Regions from separate parts of the Homo sapiens genome. Here all the other regions are linked to region 3. The links are contacts of gene promoters, found by promoter capture Hi-C in blood cells and fetal thymus (Javierre and others, 2016). All regions are on one chromosome and are shown on one strand. The core of a region is centred on a gene start or on the middle of the fragment in contact, and the rest is flanking DNA. Distances in the headings are between cores, read along the strand shown.

Region 1 (2,700 bases), core at 80-2,579, 370 kb before region 3:
GTATAAAAGGTGGGGCAGGACACAATCATTCTGCTGTGCAGAAGCCTGATAAACACTACCTCAGCCGGGTAATCAAGGTTAATACAAAAGTGTTAAGTCACATGGATGCTATGTGACTTTGTGTGCCATGATGAAAATGGCTTTGTACCTCTGTGTTCTTCCCTCCAAATCCCATAACCCCAGGCTAATCATGAGAAACACATCAGGTAAATCCCAACTGAGGGACATTCTACCAAGTACCTGACCAACCCTCATCAAAACTGTTAAGGTCATCAAAAACGGGGACATTCTAAGAAACTATCACAGCCAAGAGGAGCCAAAATGGGAAAGATATGTTAAAGTCCCACCCCCCGGTACCTTCGAATGTGAACTTATTTGGAAATGGGATAATTGCAGCTGTAATTAGTTAAGAAAAGGTCATACTAGAGTACAGCGGGCCCTTAATTAATCCTATAGGACGGGCATCCTTATAAGAAGAGTAGGCCAGGCACGGTGGCTCATGCCTATAATCCCAGCACTTTGGGAGACCAAGGCAGGCAGATCACTTGAGGTCAGGAGTTCAAGACCAGCCTGGCCAACCTGTGAAACCCCATGCATACTAAAAATACAAAAATTAGCCAGGCATGGTCGTGGGTGCCTGTAATCCCAGCTACCTGGGAGGCTGAGGCAGAAGAATCACTTGAACCCGGGAGGCGGAGGTTGCAGTGAGCTGAGATCACGCCACTGCACTCCAGCCTGAGCAACAGAGTGAGACTCCTTCTCCACAAAAAGAAAAAAAAAGAAAAGTAAAGACACAGAGACACAGACACGTGAGGGAGAATATCATGTCTTGATGAAGGCAGAGATTGAAGTTTTGTAGCTACAAGCCAAGAAATGCTAAGGATTGCCAGCAAACCAGCAGAAGCTAGGAACAGGTGAGGAAGGATTCTCTTCTACAAGTTTCAGAGGGAACACCCTGACTGCAGACTTCTAGCCTCCAAACTGTGTAATAATAAATGTCTGTTGTTTTAAGCTACCCAGGTTGGGCAGCCCCAGGACACTAATACAGAACCTAAGGAGATATGACAAATAAATGTAATGTGATATCCTGGATGGGATCCTGGAAAAGACAAAAACATCAGGTGAAAACTAAGGAAATCTGAATAAAATTTGGACTTTATTTAATAATAACGTATCAATCTTGGTTCATTAATTGTGAGAAATGTACTAAACAAATATAAGATGGTAATAATAGAGGAAACTGGTGTAGTATTCATCAGAACTTCCTGTACCATCTTCACAACCTTCCAATACTTCTCAAAACAAAAATGTCATTTAAAAAAATGTGACCCAAGATCTCTCAGCTAGGAGATGGAGAAACCAGGATTTGAAACCAGTTCTGATGGACTCTGGAGCCTAATCCCTTAACTCTAACACCAATGGCTCTCAATCAAGGCTACACACAGGCATTACCTGGGGAGTTTAAAGAAATGCCAATGTCTGTGTCTCAACCACAGAGATCCAAATATGATCAATCTAGAGTAAGGCCTGAGCACTGGGATTTTCTAAAGATCCACAGGTGATTCTAATGGACATGCAATTTGAAAGTCATTATTATAGGCTCTCCCACCAGTGTGCAACCTCTGACTTAGGTCACTCAACCAGCAAGAGACAGAGATGAGATAGATTCCCTGATATTGTAGCCCGTGGTCCAGAACTATTTTGTGACTCTCAGTAGCAACACCATTGCTAAGACCTTTCTGCACTAGTGTTTTCTGGAAAGAATGGTACTGTTTTACCTTGCAGTAGTAAACCAAGAGGAGGAGGAGCATCCCAGGCAATGGGGAGTAGCATATGAGAAAGCGGAGATATGAAAGGACACCAGGCATTTGTGGAAAACTGAATGATATAGTCCCTAGAGAGACAGACAGTTTGGGAGAAAGAACATCACACCATTTGGGAAGATCTCTATGTGCAGGATTATAAAAAGCCTTGAATACACAGCTTGCTTTTGGGAATAGGGAGCCATCTAAGGATTTTAAACCAAAGAGAGATGTGATCAGCTTTCCCTTTCAAATGAGGCATTAAATGCAGTGAACTGAGGGAGACTCAAGATGGCTACAGTACATTAGGCAAGAGACCTAATGGTCCTGAACGAGGCAGGCCAGCTTACAGGGAGGAGAGGAATCTCCTTCTGGGGGCTCTGAGAACCTAGGGCTGGGCTTAGAGAAGTCACTTTTAACAGATTCTCAACCTCTGTTAACACTTCACAGTGAATTAGTAGAGAAGTAGAGAGAAAAGAGGGCAGAAACCAAAACCCAAAAGCAGAAATCGTTTCCCAGGTCCCTGGTCTTTCTGTGACCCACTGGTACCAGCACTTGTCCATAGAAAGGAAGCCATGGGTTCTCTGAACTTGAGGGAAGGAGACAAACAGTGCCTTTGCAACAATTTCCTGTGTTGGCATTTTTTTTTTCAAGAAGAAAAGAAAAATGTCATTTGAATGCAGAAACACAAGCTCAATTCCTAGCAATGAGCTTCTGATAATAAGGAAAAAGAACCAGGACCATTTCAACACCTAGGCAGATCACAAAGCCACCAAGGGAGTCTTCTCTGAGGAATGGGGTATTAGGATAAAGCAGTGTGATGACAATGGGAAGGTGTGTGGGGCCTGGACGGTACCCAGGGTGAGTGTCTGAATGACAAACAGATCAGCATGGGCAA
Region 2 (2,700 bases), core at 196-2,695, 350 kb before region 3:
GCCTGGCTGCTTTTACAAAAAAAAAAAAATTTCCATATAGACTCATAGGTAGCAATTCTAATGTATATAATCTGTATCTTTTCATCCTAGTAAAAAATACGTGTTAATGTTTTATGTGAATATAATTTTAATTTGCATAGTAACAGCAATCACCATATAGCACTTACTATATAGCAATCACTATACAGCACTTACCTGGTAAGTGCTTAGAAAGCATTGTTCTGGTGCTTTATAAATATTAATTTATTTCATTCAATAACAAACTTGACAGGTAGGTAACAGCAGCAGCAGCTCCATTTTACAGATATGTGAGCTAAAGTCTAGAGGTTAGATAACTTGCACAAGATTTAACAGCTAATAACTAGTTGAACTGGGACTTAAACCTATATGACTGTCTACAAAGCCCCAGCTTTAGCCATTGTGATGCTCAGCGTGGAATCTAGAACATAACATCTGCTAATTAAATGTGTGTTTCTTCATCACTCACGTGGCCGTTACAGACCCCAAGAATTGCAAATGAAGTTTATATCATTTCAGCAAATGGTTCACTGGGGCCCCCCCACACTGAGGCCACATCTCCCCAGAAGAGGGGTGAGTTGTACTTGACCCACCAGGCTCCCTGCTACTGCTGGGGATGCTGCCTCTACTGCCAAACTTAATGAAGCAATGGTGTCCACAGACCCCTGATACTCGGTATAAATATTTTAGAGCTGAGAGAGATATTTAGCTTGAAATCTTACCAAAGAAAATATGGTACAGAAAGTCATCTCTAGGCACAGCAACCCTGTAAAGCCTCAATCATTTGATGCCAGGCATCTTGGCTCAATGGAGAGAGCACTGAACTGGGAGTCAGGAGACACATAGCCCAGCTCTGCTCCTGGCTGACATTGTGACCTTGGGCAAGCCACTAATTTCCCTTGGCCTCAGTTTGTCCATCTGTTCAATGAAGAATTAGGGTAGATGACAAAGGTAAGCTCCCCTCTAACTTCAGTCATGTATGGTTTCAAACAGCTTTATACTTAGAAAACTGAATCCTGGGAGGGCAGGAGGTAGGATGGAGGCCACTGGTTGGAAGAGGGAAGCTTCTAAAGAGGCATGGCAGGTAATGCCTGGAGCCAGGCTCTGTTTCCTGGGGCCTGCTATATAGTTGACGATCTCTGGGGAGGTGCTTCTCTACTAGATTTGTACTGAACACAGCAAGAAGGACAGAAATTAAATATATCAAGCCACTGAACATTAACATTGGAAAACCCATTTTTTATGTAGAGACGGGGTCTTGCTGTGTTGCCCAGGCTGGTCCCAAACTCCTGGGCTCAAGCAAACCTCCTGCCTCCACCTCCCAAAGTGCTAAGATCACAGGCATGCGCCATCTCACCTGGCCGGCATTGGGAAAAACTCTTAAGTTCTTCAGGACCCTTCATTAAACTTTCAGTCCTTCAAGTCAGTATTCTTACCTCTGAATTAAGGCAACCAACACCTAAATAAGTAAACTCGTTTAACAAACCTCACAGATATGATGGGAACTGCCTCAGGTGGGAGTTACTGGCCAAAATGAGAATGGGGGCTGTGGACCTTCCCAGAAAATACGTGAAGCTGAGAGGAGCTTATAACAAACAGTGCTACCCAGAACAAATCCTCTAGAAGTATTTTGCAGGTGTTGCTACAATAAACACTATGATGACAGAAGACAGAAAGTAAGAATCACCAGAGGGGTGTGTGTGTGTGTGTGTGTGAGTGTGTGTGTGTGTGTAACCAGCTGATGCAATCCCCATTGGCACAAATTAAGTTTTATTTAGAACCCAAGCTTGCTGTGCAGAGGCCAATATAATGCATCCTTCTGGATAGCAGAGTATTTTCTCTAATAAAAATTTCTATCAAGACAGAAAAAAATACTGTGGTATTGCAACTTGCTCTCTATCAAATGACCTCTAACACCATGGAATCTACAATTTAGAGAAGGCCAATTCAGACATCTCTAAAGCTGTTGGCCTCACCCTGGTCAATTTCTTAAAGTTTGTGATCATGTTTTAAGTGGATAAAATGCTTTAAATTAAGTTCCCAACTAGAAAATAGAGCAATGAAAAGAAAAAACAAGCCTCTAATTTTTTTTCTTGAAATGATGCACTCATGAAAAATTCTCAACTATGCACAATTTTCTATCCCTAAATGGCATTTGAGAAGAAGGAGGGGTGTGTTTTAGGGCTGGACCCATGACTGGAAGTTTCTACTGGTACCCTGTACCAAAGATCTAAATGTGCCTCACAGTCCCAAAACAAAGACTCTTTCCTTCCAGAATGCCCCAACATTGCTGGACCAGAACAGTAAGCCCCTCCATCTGTTGATTTAATGATATTAAGAGCCCATGTAGTAGTCTCAACTTTAAAGGAATTTTTAATTTTCTTCTCTAATGGCAACATTTTTTTTCCTTGGGTACTAAGATTTCTAAAATAGCAGAGATCAAAGTTATGGGTACAGAAAGAAAAGGGAAAAAAAACTAGTTTACCATTAGGGCTAATTTTGAGAAAGCCAGTCCATTCTACCCTTTAATTCTTGGAACTAAGCACTATATCATCATGGTTGCTAATTCTGAGCATGTACCACATCCTGGAGAACATTATCCTAGCCCTGCAAGGTCCTGTCCCCCAGCTGATTCTATAACTGAGTCTTCCAAAGACCACCACATTGTTCAATCAGGCCAAC
Region 3 (2,700 bases), core at 190-2,689:
GCCGGGCTCCCTGTGTACCACTGGCCTTCATGAACAAAGCTGACACCATCATGCTCCTTCGGACATATTCTGCTAGCATAAAGGGACCCCCATCTCCCCAACCGAATTAGGCAGAGCTGGCCTTCCTTCTAGCGGAGTTCCTAGGAGTGAGTTGGTGCCACCCCTTGTGAGGCTTGATCCAAAAACCAGAACCTCTCCAGACCAGGGATCCATGTCCTCTAACACAAGAGGGGCAGACCTAACCTCTAAAATCCCTCCCACTCTAACCTTCAGCATCCACAGCTCAAAACAACCAGGATGCCTCAGAAACAGCACTCACTGGGGCGAGCAGGATTAGGCTTCAGAAAAACCAGGTAGATCCAGTTTCTTCTGTCAGAAAATGTTTTTTTTTAATTACAATTTTTCATAAGTTGCCACTATATGCCAGGCTTTTCTCATTTTATCTCATTAGAGCCTCTTTTTCTTTTCTTTCTTTTTTTTTTTTTTTTGACACAAAGTCTCGCTCTGTCACCCAGGCTGGAATGCAGTGGCAACAATCTCGGCTCACTGCAACCTCTGCCTCCCAGGTTCAGACAATTCTCCTGCCTCAGCCTCCCGAGAAGCTGGGATTACAGGCACCTGCCATCACGCCCAACTAATTTTTGTATTTTTGGTAGAGGCGGGGTTTCACCATGTTGGTCAGGCTAGTCTGGAACTCCTGACCTCAGGTGATCCACCCGCCTCGGTCTCCCAAATTGCTGGGATTACAGGTGTGAGCCACCATGGCTGGCCTCATTAGAACCTCTTGATTACCTTGTAAGATATCCCTATACCTACATATATCCCCAAATCCATAGACAACAACCATGTCACACTCATTGTATCTTGTGAACCCAATCCACTGTCTAGCCCATAGAATTTGCTCAGTAAATATTTGCTGAGTAGAATAAAGTGGCAGAGCTGGATTCCTAATTCCAGTCTGAAGTCAGTGCTCAGCTTGACTTTTCTGAAGCTGCCTTCATATATGCTTCTTCCTTTGCCCTACCTGGTCAAGCTAAGAGGCAATGTATTCCCTTATCCCCCTTAATCGAATTGGACTTCATCTGTGGACAGACCCTTCCACCTTACTGACCCTAACTTTTTCTCAATAGGTATCCTGCTACAGAGCGAACTGGGCAAAATTCAGAATGGTTCCATGCATCTTAGAAGGAATGTCTGAAATAACCCTTTCTCTCTTGGGGCTGTGGGAGAACGGAGGAAGAAGCCCAGTGCATATCTGCCTCCACCAGTGCTGCTCTGACCAGAGTATCCACCTGTATCCACTCCCACACTACTACGGACGGGAGAGCCTGGGTGATCCCAGCCAGAGGCTATGCATGCATCCCCCACCCAGCCTGGAACTTCACAGAATTGCTCTTACCCTCTGGTATGGAATCAGAACCACAGACTGCAGTCAGAATGGAAGTGAGGAGGAGATGGCCCAGCCTCAACAGCCTGGTACTCACGGGGGCAGGCAGTCCCCACCTCACAATTGTCATTTCCCATTGGCCAACTCAGTGAGGGCCAGAGGCCGGTGGGCAGGCACATGTCCCTGGCAGTTGCCCACAGCCTGCACCCTAGGGAACCTGGTACAACCCAGCTTGGGCTTCGGAAGCCAAGTGGAGCTTCAGTCAAAGCACTTGTGTTTCCAGGCCTTGACCCTTATTTTGCCTCCTACAACAGCAACAGAAGATGGGGCAAAAGTCAAAACCACAGCAGGAAAACAAGATTTTTTTCCTGCATCTGACGGAGAAACTTCCTAATGTAAATGAATTAATTGCTCAGTGGTCCAGGAGGTCTCCCCCTCCCATAGATTTGCCCTAATAAGTCAGGGACGCCAATTATCACACCACAGTCTTGCTCACTGTGCATGATTAAGTCTGAGACTGTGTACGTTCAGACAGTGAGTGCTTCAGAAGGGAGCACTGTCAGAGGGGTCTGCAATCAGGTAAGAAATAGAGCACATCCTCCACTCTCTGACCTGGACCCTGGATTTAGGAAAGACCTTGCACATGAATTCTGAGAACTGGGGTGTGGGGAAGTTCCTGGAGTGGTGTGGGGCTTGGCAAGTTAAAAAGGCCCTGAATTCTTAAAGCTTGTGGCCTCGAATCGTAATTTGAATCTAATATAATAGAAAACTTACATAAAATGTGATATTGGAATACCATCTTTCAAGATTTTTTGGTTCCAAAATTTCGGATAACATTTTGACAGCTACCTTGGTATGTGTGTGTGTGTGTTTGTGAGAGAGAGAGAGCCTGTTTTTCCAGTTCCTTAAGCATATATATGCCTATTCTGTCTCTTGTGGAACCCAGCTCTGGCCTAGAAGCAGCCTGGAGAACTGGAAGCTGCCACCCACTTAGGTGTTCCTAGAAAGTTTAGGCTTGAAGTGGCAACATTCAACACCTTGGACTTTCTTGGCACGCTCATGTTTTGTTTTTGAAGGGCAGGATCTGAGCCGGTTCTTGCAAGCCACACATTCTGATGAATTAAATTACGACCCCAGCAAGGGCTTAGGATGCCAGCACCAACTTCAACAAGACATCCAAAACAGAATTTTCTCAGACAGAGGCAGGGCAAGTGTCTGCCTGCCCCCCAGATATCATCTCCACAGTCCACACAGAGCCTAAAAATCTACCAGTAAAGTCAAGTCCACCATTAAAGTAAAGATCTGATGTAAAG
Region 4 (2,700 bases), core at 120-2,619, 300 kb before region 3:
AATATGAAAAGAACATGAAATTTGGGAGGGGCCAGGGTGGAATGATATGGTCTGGGTCTGTGTCCCCACCCAAATCTCATCTTGAATTGTAATCCCCACACGTTGAGGGAGGGACCTGGTGGGAGGTGATTGGATCATGGGGGCAGTTTCCTCTACGCTGTTCTCATGATAGTGAGTGATTTCTCATGGGGGTGGTTTCTCCAATGCTGTTCTCATGATAGTAAGTGTTTTTACCTGAGATCTGGTTGTTTGATAAGTCTGGCAATTTCCCTGAGCTCTCTCTCTCTTGCCTGTCTTCACCTTGTGAAGAAGGTACTTGCTTTCCCTTTGCCCTCTGCTATGATTGTAAGTTTCCTGAGGCCTCCTCAGCCATGTGGAACTGTGAGTCAGTTAAACCTCCTTTCTTTATAAATTACCCAGTCTCAGGTAGTATCTTTATAGCAGTGTGAGAATAGACTAATAAAGCAGGCAAAAAAGTACTCATACCTTATATAACAATTAACTAAAAATGGATCACAGACTTAAATGTAAAATATCAAACTATAATACTTTTAGGAAAAAAAGAGAAAATCTTTAAGAGCTAGAGCTAGACAAAGAGTCTTAACACTAAAAACATCACTCGTAAGAGAAAAGTTGATAAATGTAACTTCACCCGTTAAAAACTTTTGCTCTGTGACAGACCCTGTTAAGAGAATGAAAAGACAAGCTACAGAATGGGAGAAAATATCTGTAAAACACATATCTGACAAAGGCCTAGCATTTTGAATATATAAAGAGCTCTCAAAATTCAATAGTAAAAGGAAACAAACATGGTAATGAAAAGAGATTTTACTGAAGAGGATACACAAGATTGCAAATTGGCAAATGAAAAAAGATGTTCTATATCATTAGCCATTAGGGAAATGCAAATTAAAACTACAATGATATATTGATATATACCTAGCAAGATTACTAAAACAAAGAAGTGACAACATCAAATTCTGGTGAGGATGCAAAGAATCACTCATAGTTTACTAGTGGGAAAAAAATGATATGGCCATTCTGGAAATCAGTTTGTCAGATTCTGAAAAATTAAGCATGCAACTACCATATGGCTTAGGAATTACACTTCTGGGCATTTGTCTCAAAGAAATAAAGACTCATGTTCACACAAAAACCTAGACACAAATTTTATAGCAACTTTATTCATAATTAGCCCAGATGTTCTTCAACTGATAATGGTTAAATACACTGTGGATATTATGGAATATTATTCAGCAATAAAAAGACACAAACTACTGATACAGGCAATAAACTGGATGAATCTCCAGAGAATTATGCTGAGCAAAAAAAAATGCCAATCCCAAAAGGTTACATGCTATAGTTCTCCTTTATATTGCGATCTTGAAAGGACAAGTTTATAAAAATGGAGAACTAATGGCATATGGGAGGAGTGGAAGCAGGTGGAAAGTTGCTGTGCCTATTAAAGAGCACCATGAGGGATTCTTATGGTGATGGAAGAGTTCTGTATCTTGACTGTAACAATGCCAATATCCTGATAGTAATATTATTGTAGAGTTTTGCAAGATTTTACCTTTTGGAGAAACTGGGCAAAGGGCACAAAGAATCTCTGAACTATTTCTCTTTCTTTCTTTTTTTAGAGACAGGGTCTCACTCTGCCAACCAAGCTGGAGTGCAGTGATGTGATTGTAGCTCACTGCTGCCTCAAATTCCTGGACTCAAGCCACCCTCCCGCCTCAGCCTCCCAAGTAGCTGGATTACAGATGCACACCACCATGCCTGGTTAACTTTCAATTTTTTGTAGATCAGGGTCTTGCTGTATGACCCAGACTGTCTTAAACTCCTGGGCTCAAGAGATCCTCCCACCTTGGCCCCCCAAAGCACTGGGTTTATAAGCATAAGCCACCACACTCAGCCCCTATACTACTTCTTACAACTGCAGGTAAATCTGCAATTATCTCAAAATGAAAAGGGTAAGTTTTAAAAGGCTGATTGCTATACTTTGGACGTTCGTCCCCCAAACTGCATATTGAAATTTGATCCCTAATGTTAGAGGTGGGGCCTGATGGGAAATATTTGGGTCCTGAGGTTTAAGGTGGATCCCTCGTGAATATATTAATGCCCTCTCTGGGGGATGGTGACTTCGCACTCTTAGTGCTTTCGTGATATGGTTTGGCTGTGCCCAACTCAAATCTCATCGTGAATTGTAGTTCCCATAATCCCCATGTTGTGGGAGGGACCCAGTGGGAGATAATTTAATCATGGGGCAGTTAACCCTCATGCTGTTCTTGTTATAGCGATTGAGTTCTCATGAGGTCTGATAGTTTTATATGGGGTTTTTCCCCCTTTTGCTCAGCACTTCTCCTTGCTGCTGCCATGTGAAGAAGAACATGTTTGCTCCCTCTTCCACCATGATTGTAAATTTTGTGTGGCCTCCCCAGCCATGGAGAACTGTGAGTCAACTAAACTGCTTTCCTTTACAAATTACCCAGTCTCCAGTATGTCTCTATTAGCAGTGTAAAAATGGACTAATACACCTTGAGAGCTGATATTTAAAAAGAGCCTCCCTCTCTACTCTCTCTTGCGTCTTTTGCCATGTGATCTCTGCACAAGTTGCTCCCCTTTCCCTTGCACCATGAGTGAAAGCAGTTTGAGGCTCTCACTAGATGTAGATGTGGGCACCATGCTTCTTATACAGCC
Region 5 (2,700 bases), core at 124-2,623, 280 kb before region 3:
GTCATGTAGGTCAGCTTCATCTCTCCCTCTGATATCAGGAGTGAATTCCCTATTCTCAAAATTGAATGGGAGGCTTTGCCTCATAAATACGTAGCTGCCCTGAGCACAGAAGTGTATAGGAGGTGAAGGTCTAGGAATGAGTGTAATTTTATGCTTATAAAAAAATGGAGTACACTCAATTCTCCATATTCATGGTCCCGCATCTGCAAATTCAACCCACCACAGATTAAAAATGTCCAAAAATTATAATACAGTAATAAAAAATAATACACATAAAAATACAGTATAACAATGATTTATATACCATTTATATTTTATTAGGTCTTATAAGTAATCTAGAAATGATTTTAAATATACAGAAGAAGTGAATAGGTTATATGCAAATAAGTATGGCCATTTCATATAAAGGACTTGAGCATCTGTGGTTTTAGTATCTGTAGAAGTCCTAGAACCAATCCCTGGCAAATAACAAGTGATGACTGTACAAAGAAGGCCTCGGACATAGATACATTTTTAGTACATAGATAATTTTTTTAAGTGGGCCCTTCATCTTCAGGGATTAGATCAATGTTGTATAGACCTAAGACAACGTGTCCCAGTGGTGGAACAGTGGAGGAAAAATCTGGTCTGTGCATCACGAGATGGTTGTACTAGGGTTAAGAAAATTAAGGGAATCATACTGGGAAAGCTATGATGGAAGAGGAAGGAGGAGCCCATATATAAAATCGAGTATTGGTTTCTATTCTTTTCTTTTTTTTTTTTTTTTTGAGACAGTCTTGCTCTGTCGCCCAGGTTGGAGTGCAGTGATGTGATCCTAGCTCACTGCAGCCTTGAACTTCTGGGCTCAAATGATTCTCCCACCTCATCCTCCTGAGTAGCTAGGATAACAGGTGTGCACCACCATGCCCAGCTAATTTTTTACTTTTTATAGAGACAGGGCCTCACTGTGTTGCCCAGGCTGGTCTCCAACTCCTAGCCTCAAGCAGTCCTTCCACCTTGGCCTCTCAAAGTGCTGGAATTCCAGCCATGAGCCACCACACCCATCTTGGTTTCTGTATCTTGAGTCTAGTTAATTGAACAAGGCTTTACTCCCATAATCTTAAGATTCCTGACTCAATTTTGAAATAATGGAATCCCTGCTTGTGGGAGTGATCCTGTTTCTGGGAAGAATTCTTCCACAATAGAAACAAAAAGCAAAGGACTAGGATTCGGGTAGCTTGAAGTTATGGCTCTTCCCATCAGTTTTATGATGTTGGACAACTGGTAGAGAACCTCTCTGGGCCTTAATTATTGTATTTCACCTGGATATATCAGACAGCCGACTTCCTCACTGAGTTACAAGGCTTGAATGAGATTGAAAACAGCTTCATAAACTGAGGCAATAAAACAAGGTTTTCATAAAATGCTACTTTAGAGTGTCAGAGGTCTGACTCTGAGCTGAGTTGAGCTGGGTGGGTTGGCTGAACCTCTCTACCTTGGTATGGTCTGTTTCTGAGTGGGGGTTTGGGCTCATCTGTCTTTAGGCTGCACCAAGGGCTGTGACTACACGCTAGCATTGATGATTGAAAACATTTTAATAATTTGCCATAAATATCCAAGACAATAGGTAGTTTTCTGATTCTAATAGATTATGTTCTGAGCATAGGCCATCTGTCACCTAATGAAATCTGAGGTCAATTATAGAGAATTTTTCCTCCATTTGATGGGACCCATAAAATTTAGGTCACTCTCAAGCACCAGCACCAACCTTAACAGAGAGCACATATCAAAAGATACAGATGTCTTTTGTTTGCCACATATCATATGAGAAAATATACTTGAAATTGTAGGATGATGTAAATGGGTATGTTCAGTATAGGTCTACATTTGATCCAGCAATCCCACTACGGGGTATCTACCCAGAGGAAAAAAAGTCATTATACGAAAAAGATACCTGCACACACATGTTTATAGCAGCACATTTCGTAATTGCAAAAATGTGGAACCAACCCAAATGCCCATCAATCAATGAGTGGATGAAGAAACTGTTTTTTATAGATAGATAGATAGATAGATAGATAGATAGATAGATAGATAGATAGATGATAGATGGATGATGGAATACTACTCAGCCATAAAAAGGAATTAATTAATGGCATTCGCAGAAACCTGGATGAGATTGGAGACTATTATTCTAAGTGAAGTAACTCAGGAATGGAAAATCAAATATTGTATGTTCTCACTCATAAGTGGGAGCTAAGTATGAGGATGCAAAGGCATAAGAATGACACAATGGACTTTGGGACTCAGGGGGAAAGGGTGGGAAGGGAGTGAGGAATAAAAGACTACAAACTGGGTGCAGTGTATACTGCTTGGGTGATGGGTGAACCGAAAATCTCACAAATTACCACTAAAGAACTTAACTTATGTAACCAAACACCACCTGTTCCCCAATAACCTGTGGAATTAGAAAATTTTTAAAAAATGTATTAAATCCACTCTTTGGAACTCAGATAACATCTCCAGAACACCCCAGTGCTTTGTTCCCAACATCCTTTCTAAGTCTGCACCAAACAGCACAGGCACTCTCTTCTCCTCACGTATCTTCCTTGATCATCACTGAAACTCATGTAGAAGGATGAACTGGAGAGCCGAGTGCTGAAAACCCCTCACAGCTGTCTTCTCTTCTCACAGCCTTTCATCAGAATGGCATCACACTAT

Evidence for each region. The method cuts DNA at HindIII sites, captures the fragments that hold promoters and counts their contacts. A CHiCAGO score of 5 or more calls a contact.
Region 1: a fragment that was not itself captured here is called in contact with the fragment with the promoter of ADIPOQ in region 3 in 1 of 17 cell types (M2 macrophages); the score reaches 5.2 in M2 macrophages.
Region 2: a fragment that was not itself captured here is called in contact with the fragment with the promoter of ADIPOQ in region 3 in 3 of 17 cell types (activated CD4 T cells, naive B cells and megakaryocytes); the score reaches 6.0 in activated CD4 T cells.
Region 4: a fragment that was not itself captured here is called in contact with the fragment with the promoter of ADIPOQ in region 3 in 14 of 17 cell types (non-activated CD4 T cells, activated CD4 T cells, naive CD4 T cells and 11 more); the score reaches 17.7 in non-activated CD4 T cells.
Region 5: a contact is called between a fragment that was not itself captured here and the fragment with the promoter of ADIPOQ in region 3, in 15 of 17 cell types (naive CD4 T cells, activated CD4 T cells, non-activated CD4 T cells and 12 more). The highest score is 24.2, in naive CD4 T cells.

What each region holds. Positions count from the first base shown.
Region 1 is chr3:187,213,228-187,215,927 of GRCh38, reverse strand. No RefSeq gene overlaps it. Among named protein-coding and RNA genes, the nearest start is that of RTP1, 17 kb to the right of the region's middle. The HindIII fragment of the contact is 8,392 bases long and covers 1-2,700 here.
Region 2 is chr3:187,192,861-187,195,560 of GRCh38, reverse strand. No RefSeq gene overlaps it. Among named protein-coding and RNA genes, the nearest start is that of RTP1, 3.3 kb to the left of the region's middle. The HindIII fragment of the contact is 722 bases long and covers 1,085-1,806 here.
Region 3 is chr3:186,841,449-186,844,148 of GRCh38, reverse strand. ADIPOQ (adiponectin, C1Q and collagen domain containing) reads right to left here and starts at 1,439. Exons shown (of 3, transcript NM_004797.4): 1 at 1,400-1,439. RefSeq lists an enhancer at 1-1,399, a cis regulatory region at 1,988-2,015 and a promoter at 1,417-2,115. The HindIII fragment of the contact is 5,592 bases long and covers 1-2,115 here.
Region 4 is chr3:187,142,049-187,144,748 of GRCh38, reverse strand. No RefSeq gene overlaps it. Among named protein-coding and RNA genes, the nearest start is that of RPL39L, 3.9 kb to the right of the region's middle. The HindIII fragment of the contact is 3,288 bases long and covers 1-2,700 here.
Region 5 is chr3:187,116,887-187,119,586 of GRCh38, reverse strand. No RefSeq gene overlaps it. Among named protein-coding and RNA genes, the nearest start is that of RPL39L, 21 kb to the left of the region's middle. The HindIII fragment of the contact is 5,493 bases long and covers 1-2,700 here.